Linked DNA regions of Homo sapiens: all the other regions are linked to region 1. The links are contacts of gene promoters, found by promoter capture Hi-C in blood cells and fetal thymus (Javierre and others, 2016). All regions are on one chromosome and are shown on one strand. Each heading gives the region's core, a stretch centred on a gene start or on the middle of the fragment in contact. The rest is flanking DNA. Distances are from core to core; before and after follow the strand shown. Region 1 holds the start of FANK1-AS1 (FANK1 antisense RNA 1). Region 2 holds the start of NPS (neuropeptide S). Region 3 holds the start of INSYN2A (inhibitory synaptic factor 2A).

The links. Contacts are between HindIII fragments. The CHiCAGO score rates a contact against its expected background, and 5 or more counts as called.
Region 2: a contact is called between the fragment with the promoter of NPS here and the fragment with the promoter of FANK1-AS1 in region 1, in 6 of 17 cell types (total B cells, non-activated CD4 T cells, total CD4 T cells and 3 more). The highest score is 12.6, in total B cells.
Region 3: the fragment with the promoter of INSYN2A here is called in contact with the fragment with the promoter of FANK1-AS1 in region 1 in 1 of 17 cell types (M2 macrophages); the score reaches 7.3 in M2 macrophages.

The regions. Positions count from the first base shown.
Region 1 is chr10:125,970,697-125,975,175 of GRCh38, forward strand. FANK1-AS1 (FANK1 antisense RNA 1) reads right to left here and starts at 2,577. Exons shown (of 4, transcript NR_102707.1): 1 at 2,558-2,577; 2 at 2,266-2,428; 3 at 2,041-2,149; 4 at 1,492-1,645. The region is part of intron 1 of FANK1 (fibronectin type III and ankyrin repeat domains 1); the gene reads left to right. The HindIII fragment of the contact is 7,061 bases long and covers 1-4,479 here.
Region 2 is chr10:127,547,265-127,551,743 of GRCh38, forward strand. NPS (neuropeptide S) reads left to right here and starts at 2,045. Exons shown (of 3, transcript NM_001030013.2): 1 at 2,045-2,112; 2 at 2,225-2,306. The coding sequence starts at 2,105. The HindIII fragment of the contact is 10,264 bases long and covers 1-4,479 here.
Region 3 is chr10:127,193,974-127,198,452 of GRCh38, forward strand. It overlaps INSYN2A (inhibitory synaptic factor 2A), which reads right to left and starts at 2,618. Exons shown (of 6, transcript NM_001039762.3): 1 at 2,024-2,618. All of the region lies in intron 27 of DOCK1 (dedicator of cytokinesis 1), which reads left to right. The HindIII fragment of the contact is 7,592 bases long and covers 582-4,479 here.

The sequences.
Region 1 (4,479 bases), core at 1,327-3,826:
CCAGGCACTCGGCAGGCTGAGGCAGGAGAATCAGGCAGGGAGGTTGCAGTGAGCCGAGATCGCGGCAGTACAGTCCAGCCTCGGCAACAGAGGGGGACCGTGGAAAGTGAGAGATGGAGACGAGGGAGAGGGGAAGACCGTGGAAAGCAGGAGACGGGAGAGGGAGAGGGAGAGCTTGAGCTTGAATTTTTCAAAATGTTGATTTTTGTCACCTTAGGAAAGATGTGTTACTTGTTATACATCCAGCATGGTTAAGTCCTAGTGTCAAGTGAGCCAGGACTATAGTCACAGATATACTTACCTCTCCTTGCAACTTTAGCTGTATTATAAAACTTGGGGGTGATAACATTTACAAATAGACTTGTTCATGTATTAGTAGTAAATTCAGAGTACTTTTCCACTGTGATATGTGCTTTCTGCCCTAAGTATATACAATCTTTTCAGATTTATCTATGAGCTATCTTGCTAATTGTTTCACCCACATTCTATAGCCTTTCCCTCCTGTTGATGCAACTCTTCCTCTTCCAGATTTCATGCTGAACCTAATGCAGCATTTGACTGGCTTCCTACCCATTCCCATAGTGTCTGCAAGTAAACATCAGTCAAACTCTCTGCCTTCTTGGTCTCCACTACTGGTTGCTATGGGCTTTCTATACCATCTTTCCTTTCCTGGACTGGGCTCCTGAAGGTCAGCAGCCTCCCTGACCTCGGTGCTATAATAAGTTGCCTTCTCTTCTGCTTGCACACAACATCTCTCTACTTTATTCAAACAATTACCTGGTTTGCATTGTCTCACTTTTTCTGACCAAGTTTTCTTGATCATTTAAAAATTTCCTTGGGGTTCAAGCCAGTTCACAAGCTAGACCTGATTTAAAATGAATAATTTAAGGAAATCTGGAGAACGAACTAATAGTAGATTTTTCACCCTGGTCTACATTTTTCTGAGACGGAGTCTCGCTCCGTCGCCCAGGCTGGAGTGCGGTGGCATGATCTTGGCTCACTGCAAACTCCGCCTCCTGGGTTCACGCCATTCTCCTGCCTCAGCCTCCTGAGTAGCTGGGACTACAGGTGCCCGCTACCACGGCCGGCTAATTTTTTTGTATTTTTAGTAGAGACAGGGTTTCACCATGTTAGCCAGGATGGTCTCGATCTCGTGACTTTGTGATTCGTCCACCTTGGCCTCCGAAAGTAAAGTGCTGGGATTACAGGTGTGAGCCACTGCGCCCGGCCGCTCCGGTCTACATTTTATATCTCTACTCTTAAGAGGCAGTATGGTACAAGGTTAAAAGTAAGGGACTTCTGAGCCAGATTATCTTCATTTTAATCCTGGTTCTACCAGTTATTTCTGTGTGACCTTGGGCAAGTTATGTAACTTCTCTGTGCCTCAGATTGTTTATAAGGGAGATAATAAAAATCCTTACAGCATATAGAGTTGGTGAAGTTAAATGTGGTGAAAGTTAAATGAATAAATAAAGCATCCACACTAGTACATGACCCAAATTAAGTGTCATATAAGTGTTGCCGCATTGCAGTTCTCCTCAGTGACGGCCTGTGACCTGCCATTTCTGTCGGCTCTTACCAAGGCTCGGTGCCGCCCCGGGCCTCTGCTCCATTGTCATAGTAATGTTTGCACTCTGCTAGTCACCTGTAAATATACATATTTAGGATCCTAAAACCAATATCCTAAAATATGTATATTAGCAGATGATGACAAAAACACCAGAATTTTTATCAAAGAGAAAGTAGAAAGTATATGGGTTAATATTGTAAGGATTAGGATACACCTGTCAAATTACTCTAGGTTGGCTTAGAAACAAAGCAAAACAAATTGGGTCCCATCCACTATTTTTTGGCATTCTGAAAATAACTAGCTCTTACCTGATGAGGTCATTCATTCATGACCTGACCATCCAGGTCCTATCTGGCAATAATAGCTTTTTGCAAAAAGCAACTCTTGCCTAAGTGGAGATTTACATCTTGATGAGTTTTGTATGAAAGTAAAGAAGATGCAGGAACATTATCAGTGGGGCGTACACTAACCATTGGCATTTCTGAGCAACGTGTTGCGTAGTTGTGTGATTTGGCAGCAGCTGGTCCATTGCTGACACGTGTGTGTGTTCACTGAGGCTTCACTCACACCTAAGGCTTCCTTGGAGAGACCATGCTGCCATTACATTTGGATCACTACCTGCCCCCAACACACACACACACACACACACACACACACACACACACACGAACCAACTTTCCAAGCACCACACCCACCTTTTCCGGGCTCTGTACCAGATCTGGAGGGGTGATGGCTAGAAGTGAGGGTTTTTGCTCCATCATGAGTAGCAGCTGGAAGTGGGCCTGTGCCCAGCTCTGGTGGCAGTGGGCCACCTGTGGCTGGTGCCAAGCTCACTGATGGAGATCTCTCATTATGTACCTACATCAATGATCAGTAAAGAACAAGCCATAAGAAACTTTTGGGTCTCTGGGAATGTTATCTTTTTACTCCTCATATAACTTCATGGTGAACTGTTTTGAAATTTGACATTAATTTAGAATTTCTTGCCTGTTCTGATCTCTAGTAGGATTCTAGGCTGGATGTCTTTGGAATTGAAATACTTGTTGGCTTCTGGTTATTTTGGGGGTAATCCATAACAGTCTACCATTCCTGGTGTTTGGTTTTAGTGGGCTGTGAAAAAAATCATTTGTTCAACACTGATGTCGTGATACAAGGACGTGAAGATGTGAGTCATTGTGACATCACCAGCCAGAATTGCTGGGATTCAGTGAGATGACTCACAGTAAGAGGTCAGTGTCTGGTTCAGTAGTTCCTTCTTCCACATGTATCCCTCAGTATCTAGAACCCTGAAATTGGTTTCTCTAAGAAAACCAAGAGGCCCATAAGGGTAATGTATACTGTTGATTTTTATGGTTATTTTTCAAAAACTAATATTTTAAACATATCAAAATTATTTCAAATGGTAATGTACTCAATGTACCATTTGGTTTAAGATGTTAACATTTTGCCATATATGTCATAAAGTCTTTTCATGAAGAAATCAAACCTTACAAATATACTGGTAAGACCCCCCTCCTGCCCATCATGCCCCCATCCCTTCCGTTATGTTGTTGAGGTGGTGTATGTTCTTCCCTTCAGCTTTTTAACTTTTACTACATATCTGTGCATTCATAAATAACATGTAGTGTTTTTTGCGTGTTATGTAGTGTGTCCTTTTGCAACCCATGTTTTCCACCCATCCATTTTGAATTGATCTATGTTGATGCAGGTGTATACAAAACTCATACAGCTAATTTCTTTTAGTTGTTGTATAGGATTTTACTGTAGGAAATATGCCATCATTTATTTAGATACTTTGTAACTTAATTATCACAAAACACTTTGTGGTATTTTTAACTCAGTTTCAGAGAACATATTCAAACCTAGGTTTATCCAATTCCATCATGCTTTCTATAAACATTTGGAAAATAAAGTTGGGAAAGTGAGCTTGCAGGCTGCCTCCTAGCATATCTCTGGGGTCTTCGTGTAAGGGAAATTGTTGGCTGTGTGCCCCACTGGCCTGGGGTGGCAAGACCAGGGCAGCCCTGTCTTCGTCAGTGGGTCTGCACTGCAGGAAGACCCCTGGGTCTTCAGAGGGTGCTGGTCAGCTACTTGGGACATTGGCTCAAGGGAAATACAAGATCCTTTTTTTTTAAATGAACAATGCAGTAAATCTGTGATATATTTGAGGCTCAAGAAGGATTGAGTTACAGGGAGAAGTTTCAAAGGAAGTGTAAGACATGGACCCAGCCTGTAAGAAACTTAAAGTGTAGCAGGGGAGACAAAACTAACATAGAACAATTGCATGCTACACAGCTTGGTATACACTCTACTGCACCCCTTGTTACCTTTGGCAAAAATGAGATATTCTGTGTTTTTCTTTGCACCTTGATTTCTCACCCAACAATACTTAGTGGAGGTCCTTTCAAAGCACCTAGTATAGAACAAATTCATTTTTCAAAGGGTGTATAATGTTCCACTTTATGGACATAGAATAACTTATTTGTCCAGTCTCTTATAAATGGGTCATCTTTTGTTTTGTTTTGTTGTAAACTGCTGAAAACTGTAGTAATGTCCTATGTGTCTTTGTGTGTATCTATTTTTATTTTTTTAATTTTTATTTTAGGTTTGGGGGTACGTGTGAAGGTTTGTCACACAGATAAATATGAGTCACAGGAGTTTGTTGTACATAGTATTACATCACCCAGGTAATACGCTCAATACCCAATAGTTACCTTTTCTGCTCCTCTCACCCTCCCGCTTCAGGTAGACCCCAGGGTCTGTTGTTTCCTTCTTTGTGTTCCTAAGTTCTTCTCATTTAGCTTCCTCTTATAAAAGAGAACATGCGGTATTTGATTTTGTGTTCCTGCATTAGATTGCTAAAGATGATAGCCTCCAGTTCCATCCATGTTCCCGCACAAGACCTGATC
Region 2 (4,479 bases), core at 795-3,294, 1.6 Mb after region 1:
TGAGTCCAGGAGTTTGAGTTCGAGACCAGCCTGGACAACACAGTGAGACTCTGTCTCTACAAAAAAATTAAAAAATTAGCTGAGTATGATGGCGCATGGTCCTAGCTACTTGGAGGCTGAGGCGGGAAAATCACTTGAACCTAGGAGGTTAAGGCTGCAGTGGGCCATCATCATGCCACTGCACTTCAGCCTGGGCAACAGAGGGAGATCCTGTCTCAAAAATAAAAAATAAAAATAATAAACCTGTCATCTCCTGCCAATTCTAGAGAGTAGACAGTGTCTGGCAATGGGAAGTTGGGAGAGGATGTGCTATTGATTGAGTTGATTCTTAAACAAATTTCCACTTAACCCTCCATTTTGGTACCATCTTCACTACATGCAAAAATAACTTGAGTCTTTTGGGGGTATTTCAGTAAGCACCTTTCTCAGATCCACTTGATCAATTGTTTATCACTTAATAAAATCCTTCTGCATTCTTTTTGGGTTCCTGCGTGTGTGTGTGTGTGTGTGTGTGTGTGTGTTTTAGCTAAAACAACCAAAAGTAAATATGTGTGTTCAGTCCCTTTGTGCTCTTAGGCCCTTTGTCTCCTAATATCCACACTATGTCCCATAAGAACACTGATCAAAGTAGTTTGGATCACTTCCTCAGCCCCTCAACTTGGCTCTAATCTTGTGAGCTTGGTTCTCTTGAGAGTCCAGGTCATCTGCTTTTCCTTGTGATGGCAAACTGTGACTGTATGATTGACAGCTACATAAAAATCATGCAAATGGCAGTTCCCCAAAGAAAGAAATGCAGTGCCAACAAATTGGCAGCAACTGTCCCAGACACAGGGCAGCTTTGTCCTCCAAAAGGTGCTGATCTCGAGGAGGCACGGATTATCCTTGGTTGCTTTGTATTCAAAAACTGTTGGCATCATCTCAGAAACACTAGTTATCCAAGCAGAAAGCACCTCCCTTGGTGTTTTTCTCCATTGTAAGCCTCAGCAACATCTGTTCATACTTAGAGCTCCTGAATCCATTTATTAATGCAGATGCCCATTGAAGTGCAAGGACAGCAAAGGCTGCCTGAAGAAATTCCATACCCTGGGGAGAAAAAGGAAGCCATGAAAAGCAGGCTCTCCCAGAACTGTGGGCCTGGGACTTTGGGAGCCCGTGGGACTTTTGGGAGTACATGGCATGGACAGGGGATACACAGTGTCCTTCCTTTATTTCGATGACTAGCGGAAAAGGTGTGACATTTATTTTCCTGCTTTAACTGCTGAAGTCCTAAAGGAAAGAAATCTAAGGTAGAAAATGTAAATAATCTGCATGAGTTGTTTGGGTAAATGTGTTTTTTTGTTTGTTTTTGTTTTGTTTTGTTTTGTTTTGAGTCAGAGTCTGGCTCTGTCACCCAGGCTGGAGTGCAGTGGGGCAATCTCGGCTCACTGCCACCTCTGCCTCCCGGGTTCCAGCGATTCTCCTGCCTCCTGCCTCAGCCTCCCAAGTAGCTGGATTACAGGTGTGCACTACCACGCCTGGCTAATTTTTGTATGTTTAGTGGAGATAGGGTTTCACCATGTTGGCCAGGCTGGTCTCAAACTCCTGACCTCAGGTGATCCACCTGCCTCGGCCTCCCAAAGTGCTAGGATTACAGGTGTGAGCCACCGTGCCCAGCTGGGTAGATGTTCTTTATTCCTGTAAGTATTTCTTTTGTGTTAGTTTCTGAAACATAATGTCTGGGACATTCAAGGAAAGAATGTCATCCTTCTTAAAGGTTTAAATTCTAAGCTAAAAAAACCTTTTGTTTCCTTTTGAGACCTCTGGCCACCCATGCCACAATGATTCAGTCTCGAAGACAATGGTTTTGAAGGACATTCTTAATGGCAAACTTTAAATGAAGTCGATCATTGGCAGCTCAATGACAATGCCCATATGTTATGTCCTTTTCTTCTTAACAAGAACAAAAGGCCACAGACAGAACAATTAGTCATATAGGAGGGATGAGATGACATTTTTACTCCCGAACTTTTCTGGTATAAAAGGGCCACCCAATGAGGGTCTGAGAGTAAGTGTGAGAAATTTGGCAATAAAACCACCTATCTTTACAGATTTTGGGAAGTCCAAAATGATTAGGTAAAAGGCTACGTTTTTCTGCAAAGAAAAATGTTGCATTTTCATATGCTGTTTTACTTATTCTTGCCTACTTGAGACTAAATCTTGATTGTACTTTTTTTCTACTTTGCAGCTCAGTAAAACTCAATCTCATCCTAGTTCTGTCGCTGTCCACAATGCATGTGTTTTGGTGTTATCCAGTTCCATCTTCTAAGGTAAGGATTTGCCTCCGTTGTGGATATTTAAATAGATGACTAGAATGGTAAATTATGTAAATTCCAAATACTTTCAAGGAATATGTGACAGAAAAGTAATTTCCTTTATTATTAGAGTTCTCAATGGGAAAAAGTCAGCAGATTGATGACATTAGTAAAAGAAAATATTAGTGTGACAAGTAACACTGGACTATATTCAAATTTGTTTTGAATTATTTAGGGTTGGCTCCTGCAAAGGGAAATATTCATCTCAATCTAAAGTAATTTTTTTGCCAATGGCAATTTATTTATTCCACATGCATTCATTCATAATCAAAGTGAACACTTAACCATGGAAACTATATTAAAAATAAAGTGGTCATTTTTCAAAAACAGTTTAATTTTTTCAGATGCAGAATATAGATAAAACGTTAGCTCTAAATAAAATATCACATAAAATATTAATTCATATATTTATTAGAGAATATTGATTGAACTCCTACGTTCATTGAACTGTTCAAGACATTCAGAAAATAAATATCTTTCTTTGGAATATTTAATATTATTTCTACATAATATTTCAGTTGCCTTTATGTCAATATTTTGTTTATAATTTTAAAATATCTTTTGTCATTGACGGCATTTTGAACTTGAACTTTTTTTCACTAAAACGTAACCTGTCACATTATAATGACTGAAATCAATGTGATTTATGAAACTACTTTTAGGATAAAGGGATGTCGCATAAATCCTAAGTGATAAATATATGTCTGAACATAATGATCTAGTTATTTATATTATTGGCCTTTTCACTAATCTTTGCATCTGTCATTTTTCTATTTCTTGTTTATTTAATATAGCTTCTTTTTTTTGGTTTCCTCCTATGAGCATTCAACACTAATTTAGTCATCAATTCTATAAGACACCACATTGATCAAGCTGATGAGTCACAATCCATATACTGGTATATTTTCTCAAGTGTCTTCCTAATTACTTTCTGTTCTTTCCCCAAAGGTTTACTCATGACATTTCTGTTGAATAACAGGCTCTTCTCTGTAGCTTTTTTAAAAGAAATTAAGAATGTACTTTGTTCTAAAATACTTATGAGACTTCCTTGTCCATAAATGAAATGTTTCTCCTTTCACTGCATTTTCCTTATTTCTATTTTTGCACGTGACAGTTTTGTTCTTGTTATTACCTAGTTCCGTAGTAAGAGTGTGGATGCTATTCATGCCAATTTGATTGCTTAGGGTGAATGATTATGCAGGCAGACGACACATAGGCTTTTATAATATTTGTTGCGAACTTCACTGAGTCCATTAACCAGGCAAATATACAATCTTATTATGTTAATGAGTCTGCCCTGGCAAGGGCTGCCTTCGACGATCAGCAAAGTGCATCAGTGTCTTTTTAGGGATGTTTCAGGAATCTCATAACCAGAACTGATACATTCCTTTTGCAGTATAAAGGTGGCATCATGAGTATTTCTGGAAAGAACTGGCTTGCTTCCCTTCCTGCAATGACTCAGAGGCCCTTCCCTGCTGGGGATTTTAAATAGAAGGCGTTCTCTCTATCATGTTTAGATTTCCTCTGTTAGCACACGGAAAAATACATAGTGGATGTCCGACTAAGAGTGTTTGATTGGTTTTCTCATGACCAATATTTCTGAAACTCTCTGACCAAACTCTCTGAGATGAAAAAGGGGGGAAAAAGCCCATTTTTTTTCCCCAGAGGCCAGTGGGAATGATTTGTCTGGGTTGCACTGAATCTTCAGTAAACCACCCACGCGTGGGTGAAGAATTACAGGGAACGCTTTATGCACTCTGGCCCCGTTTCGACTTCCATACAGTAACCTGAGACCACACTTGTTTTCCTGCACCAAGATAGAAAAAAAAGTATGAGTTTTACCTTGTAGTATGTCTCTTTATTGATAATAAAAGCACTCAGTTTCCTTTTCCTCTTGTAGTTCTAGTATAGTTGAGAAACCTAAACTTAGAGTCAGATGCCTTGAAAATAATAGTATCTACTTCACAGAGTTTTGTTTAGGAGTAGGACAAGATGATGCCCATAATGCAAGCAGCACACAGATCATGGGTAAATCTGTGCTTTGCATTATTGGTGAAATTTGTATTAGCATCTTATCAGTGTGTTATAATTCCTCTGAAACCATGCAAGAGGGAAAACACAACAAGTG
Region 3 (4,479 bases), core at 1,368-3,867, 1.2 Mb after region 1:
AAGGGCCTGACTTACATGAAAGCTCAAAGTCTTAATCACAATGATAAAATACAAAGTCGTGGCAACTGTAATAAGTTTAAAGACATATGTAGCTTTTCAAGGACATCTTGTCTTTAAGGAAAAGTCTTTCATTTAGCTAAAGAAATTAAACTGAATTGTTTAGTCTTTTAAACAAAATGATGAATTTAGTGAAGAAAACAAAACTCTCCATGGCTAATGTAATTTATGCAAAATCATGCAATTAGTGATAGCTGTGCTAGACTTTTTCTTTTCCTTAACCAAATGCGCCTCTAATAAAACCATCGTGAGGAGCAGTGCCATCTAATGTAAGTAGTAAACATGGATAGTAAATGATTAATATCTGGTGAGGCATGCAGATGGCAGGACTTCCATTTTTTCTTTGAGCTCCTTGTGCATGTTTGCTAATCATTCTTGCAAAAAAATTGCAAAGATAAATATGAACTTTCAAAAGTAACATTCAACAGGATATGAATGTAAGAAATAGTACAGTGTGGGGGAATAGTAAAAACCAGCACTTTCCGCCTCTGCATAGTGAAATGACGGTAACTTGCTGTAGCGTAAGCTTAATAAGGGTTATATCATTTTCATGTATGTACTACTCTGGGAATGGCCCGGGTCTTGTGAGTGGTATTTTTTCATCAAGTACCCAGCCAGCGCAGTCACTCTGACAGTCCCCCCACTGAGATAAGGCATGGAAAGGTAACCCTCTAGCAAGTCCTCGTTGAGGGGGGAGCGTTCAAGTGCACAGACGTCTACCCTGTGCTATCCTGAGCTGTAGTCTTCTGAAATGATCGTTTGGCTTCCCAGCCAAGGCAGGGCTCCCCCAAAGTTCATTCCCACTCTTGCAGTTTCACCTCGGGATGCTTCCGCAGAATTTCAGCGCCTAAGCAGACAAGGTCAAAGTAAACCGCTTCACCGCTGCTTCTGGCGCAGGGGCCCAGAGCGCGTGCAGCTCCCCAGCACAGACCAACAGCAGGAGAGGGGTCCGGGCGGGAGCCCTGGGCTGTAGATAAGCAAAACGCACCCATTTTCTCTCCTATTTACTCCAGAGGCACCTCTCCTCCCCCACTCCTGGCATCTCTTTATCACTGGCTCCCTCTCCCTGTGGCATATTTTTGGGTAGTAGAATGCTGAGGTCACAGGGAGCGGCTCTTTATCCAAGCAGTGGGGACATCAGCCTGGAGCCCTGAGCATGAACCAGCAAGATGCAGACTCTCGCTCTTGACTTTGGGCTCCAGGAGCTGCCCCGACCCCGGGCTGCCCGCGGGCTCCCTCCTCCCTCCTGCCCTCGCCCGCCAGCTCGCAGTCTCTTAGGTCTGCAGCGTTGGTTGGTTTCCCACGCCTGTCCCGGTCTGACTCGGGCTGCCAGGCACCGGGAAGCCCCGCGGCGCCGACCCCAACCCGCAGCCCCGGGAAGGTGCCAACCCCAGCGAGTGGAGGAGACGAGCATTTCACGTGGGCATCTGCCTTCACTGCTGCTCGCGCCTCTCCTCAACGGCCGGCGTCAGGGCCCCTCTGTTCCAACTCATCCCCCCCCCGAAGTTAATCAGCCGTACTTGTACTTTCCAGGGCGCTTTAGTTTGGAAAATACTTAAAAGCCTCGAAACCTTCCGGGGAGACGGCCGCCCCCAGATCTCCCAGTTTTGCCTGGCTAGGGCTGTCGGGCGCTCACGAAGCTGTGGCGTCTGTCTGGAACCCACATCGCAGAGGCGCAGCCCCGCTCCTCCCTGACGTCGCCAAAGTTGCCAGACGCCCCTCAGCGACCCGGTCGCGCCAGATGCAGTTGCATAACCTTGCCCCCCACCTGCGACCGCACCGGGTCCGCTCCCGGCTGCACCGGGGTGTCCCGGCCCCGGGAGCCGCCGAGTTTCCGGCCAAGCCGGTTTGGGGCCGAGTGTGTGCGCCCGAATCGGGGTCGGCGCCCGTCCCAGCGGTGCTCTGCCCGCGGCCAAGTACGACGGGCGCGGGGGCGCGGGAGGAGGGCACGCGGGGCTCCGCTTACCTTCCGCTGCTTACAGATAAGTCGAGGTCGATGCAGCGCCTGGCTCGGGCATGTCTCGCTGCGGACCCTGGCAAGCCTGGGGCGGCACGGAGCACTCCGGACAGGGCATCCGCGGCCAGACTCGCCGCGCTCACGCGGAGGAAGCCTCGGCTCCGGGGACTTGGCCCGCTGCGCGCCTGCTGCCCGCCCCCTCCACCGCTGCCGGCCCGGCCCTGCTGGCCCGGCCGGCCCCCGCGCCGCAGCTCGCGTCGCTCGCGTCCCTCCGGCCCCGCTTAGCGACGCGCGCGGGGAGGCAGCGGCTGGGCCAGCTCCGGGGACGCCCGCGCGCTCGCTTGCTCGCGACGCGGCGGAGCCAGCCACAGCCACCCGGCTTCGCGCTCCTCCGATGTCCTCATTTACTGCAATTGTCTTCGGCGAGATCTCAGAGCCAGGGCCAGGAGGCGGGGGCGGGGCAGAGGAGGGAGCAGGAGGGAAGTCCTTTCCGCTGCTCCAGGTCCCAGCTACTCCGCGGAGCCGGGCGGCCAGAGGCGAGGGCGCCCCAAGCCGCGCGCCTGCCGCCTGTGCGCCCGGCTGGCACCGAGGCGGGCGGAGCCCCGGGCCCCGCGGGGCGGAGGTGGGGCGGGGGCGGCGCGGGGCCGGGCCGGGCCGGGCCGCGTGCGTGGGGTGGGGGATAGGGAGGGAGTGGAGGAGCCCCCTCCCGCCGCCGCCAGAGCTGGAGGAGGAGGAGGAAGAGGAGGAGGAGGTGGAAGGAGCTGCCGCCGGCTGCCGCCGGCTGCCGCCTGCGCGCGGGGCTCCGCCACAGCGCGTCCTCCGGGTTTCTGGGCTGCAGGCGGCGCTGCATGGCCCGGGAACTTGTTGAGTCTACCCTGGAGCCGCCTCCGGAGCAGCTGGCGGGCGGGGGACTCCGTGTGTTCTCTCAGGGATGGGGGGTCGCTGGGGACCCTGCTGCATGACTGTCTGCTGTGCCAGCCAGCCTGGCCCGGCGGGGCTTTGGGAAGCCAGGCTTGAAGGGTGCGTGTCTTGTAGGTGCCTGGCCGCTCACCTGCGGATGCTGCCTTGTAGAAGCAGGAGTTCGGGGATCCTTTCAGTGCTGGCTCCAACCTGGTGTCAGCCTCTCTACATGGGGACAGGAGGTCCTATGAGTGGCCTGAGGACTGAAGTGGGAGGGCCTGCCTGGTAATGTTGCATGCTGACATTTAGGGACACTCCAGAGCAGGCGCCACTGCCACTCCTAGCCAGGAACCCTACCCCCCATCCAGAGCACACACCACCCGTCAGCAGAAGCCACAGGGCGCAGAGGCTGAGTTCCTTTGTGGCAGAGTAGAATTCTCTTGGGAGAGGAAAAGACCTAGGATGCACACGGAGCTATCCCCGCCCTTAATTTCCCACCCACCAAAGAGTATTGGGTGTTTTGAGCTCAGAGCAGCAGACCCAGGGGCCCCTCTGATGCCTGTCAGGCCCTGGGGTCTGGGCCAGGGACTAAGCAGCCAGCCGAGTGCAGGGCTCCTGGCCCCCTGGATTTGCTCCTAGAATGTAATGTAAAATGTAAGTAGCCACATTTATTAGTCTGTTTCTCAGGAAAGGTCAGAGAAGTAGTGGACCCCAGGGAAGGGACAGGCTTCGGAGAGGAAATTGGGAGGACAAATGGAAAGTCCCTTCACCCACCCACCTCTCCAGACACATCAGTGGGCAGTGAGACCTCTTTGCCTATACATCCCTGAGTCTCTGCACCTAGCACCAGCTCTGTGCCTGTGACCAAGCCATAGCTCCATCCTTGTTCGCTGAGCTGAACTGAGCCTATCACTGCCTTATAGAGTGTCTGTTTTTTATAAATGACTTTATACGAAATACCTTCTTTGTATGTGGATGCTTTGGGCAGTGTGTCCAGACATTTCAGAAGAAAAAAAAATCTAAAATGTCATCTATTTCCCTCTTTACCCCGCAGCATCCTTTGGTATACAATTTTGCCAGCCTTGGGGATCCAGATATGCCCAGGACGGGAGTCCTGAGCCTGTGGATCCAAACTCTGCCCACCTCACTCTTCTTGTTGTTCTTCTTAACTCAGATCCCCCAAGCTGATTTTCCAGCTTACCAGGGAGGCTGTTGGGAGCTGGCTGGAAAGAGATGCTTAATTTTGTGTGAGCAGTATGGAAACTGCAGTCCCCTCTTCTGCCTGGAAGGGGCCTGGGAAGGGAATGTATAGGAGTTGGGGACGTTTAAAACCAGATAGGAGAAGTTGCCACTCTCCAGCATGTTCCCTTGGGGATGTGCTGTTGCAGCTGTGGGCTCCAGTAATTTTCCCAGTGGTCTGGGGAACTTCTGTAAATCTTACTTTATTGGCAATCCATAAAATTGAAATCTGCCTTCCGTCTTTTAAAGTGACTGTAAATAAAGCTGCCAGGAAACTTGGGCATTGGGCTGGTAGTATCAGAAGGCTGAAGTTTTCCGGGACCAAG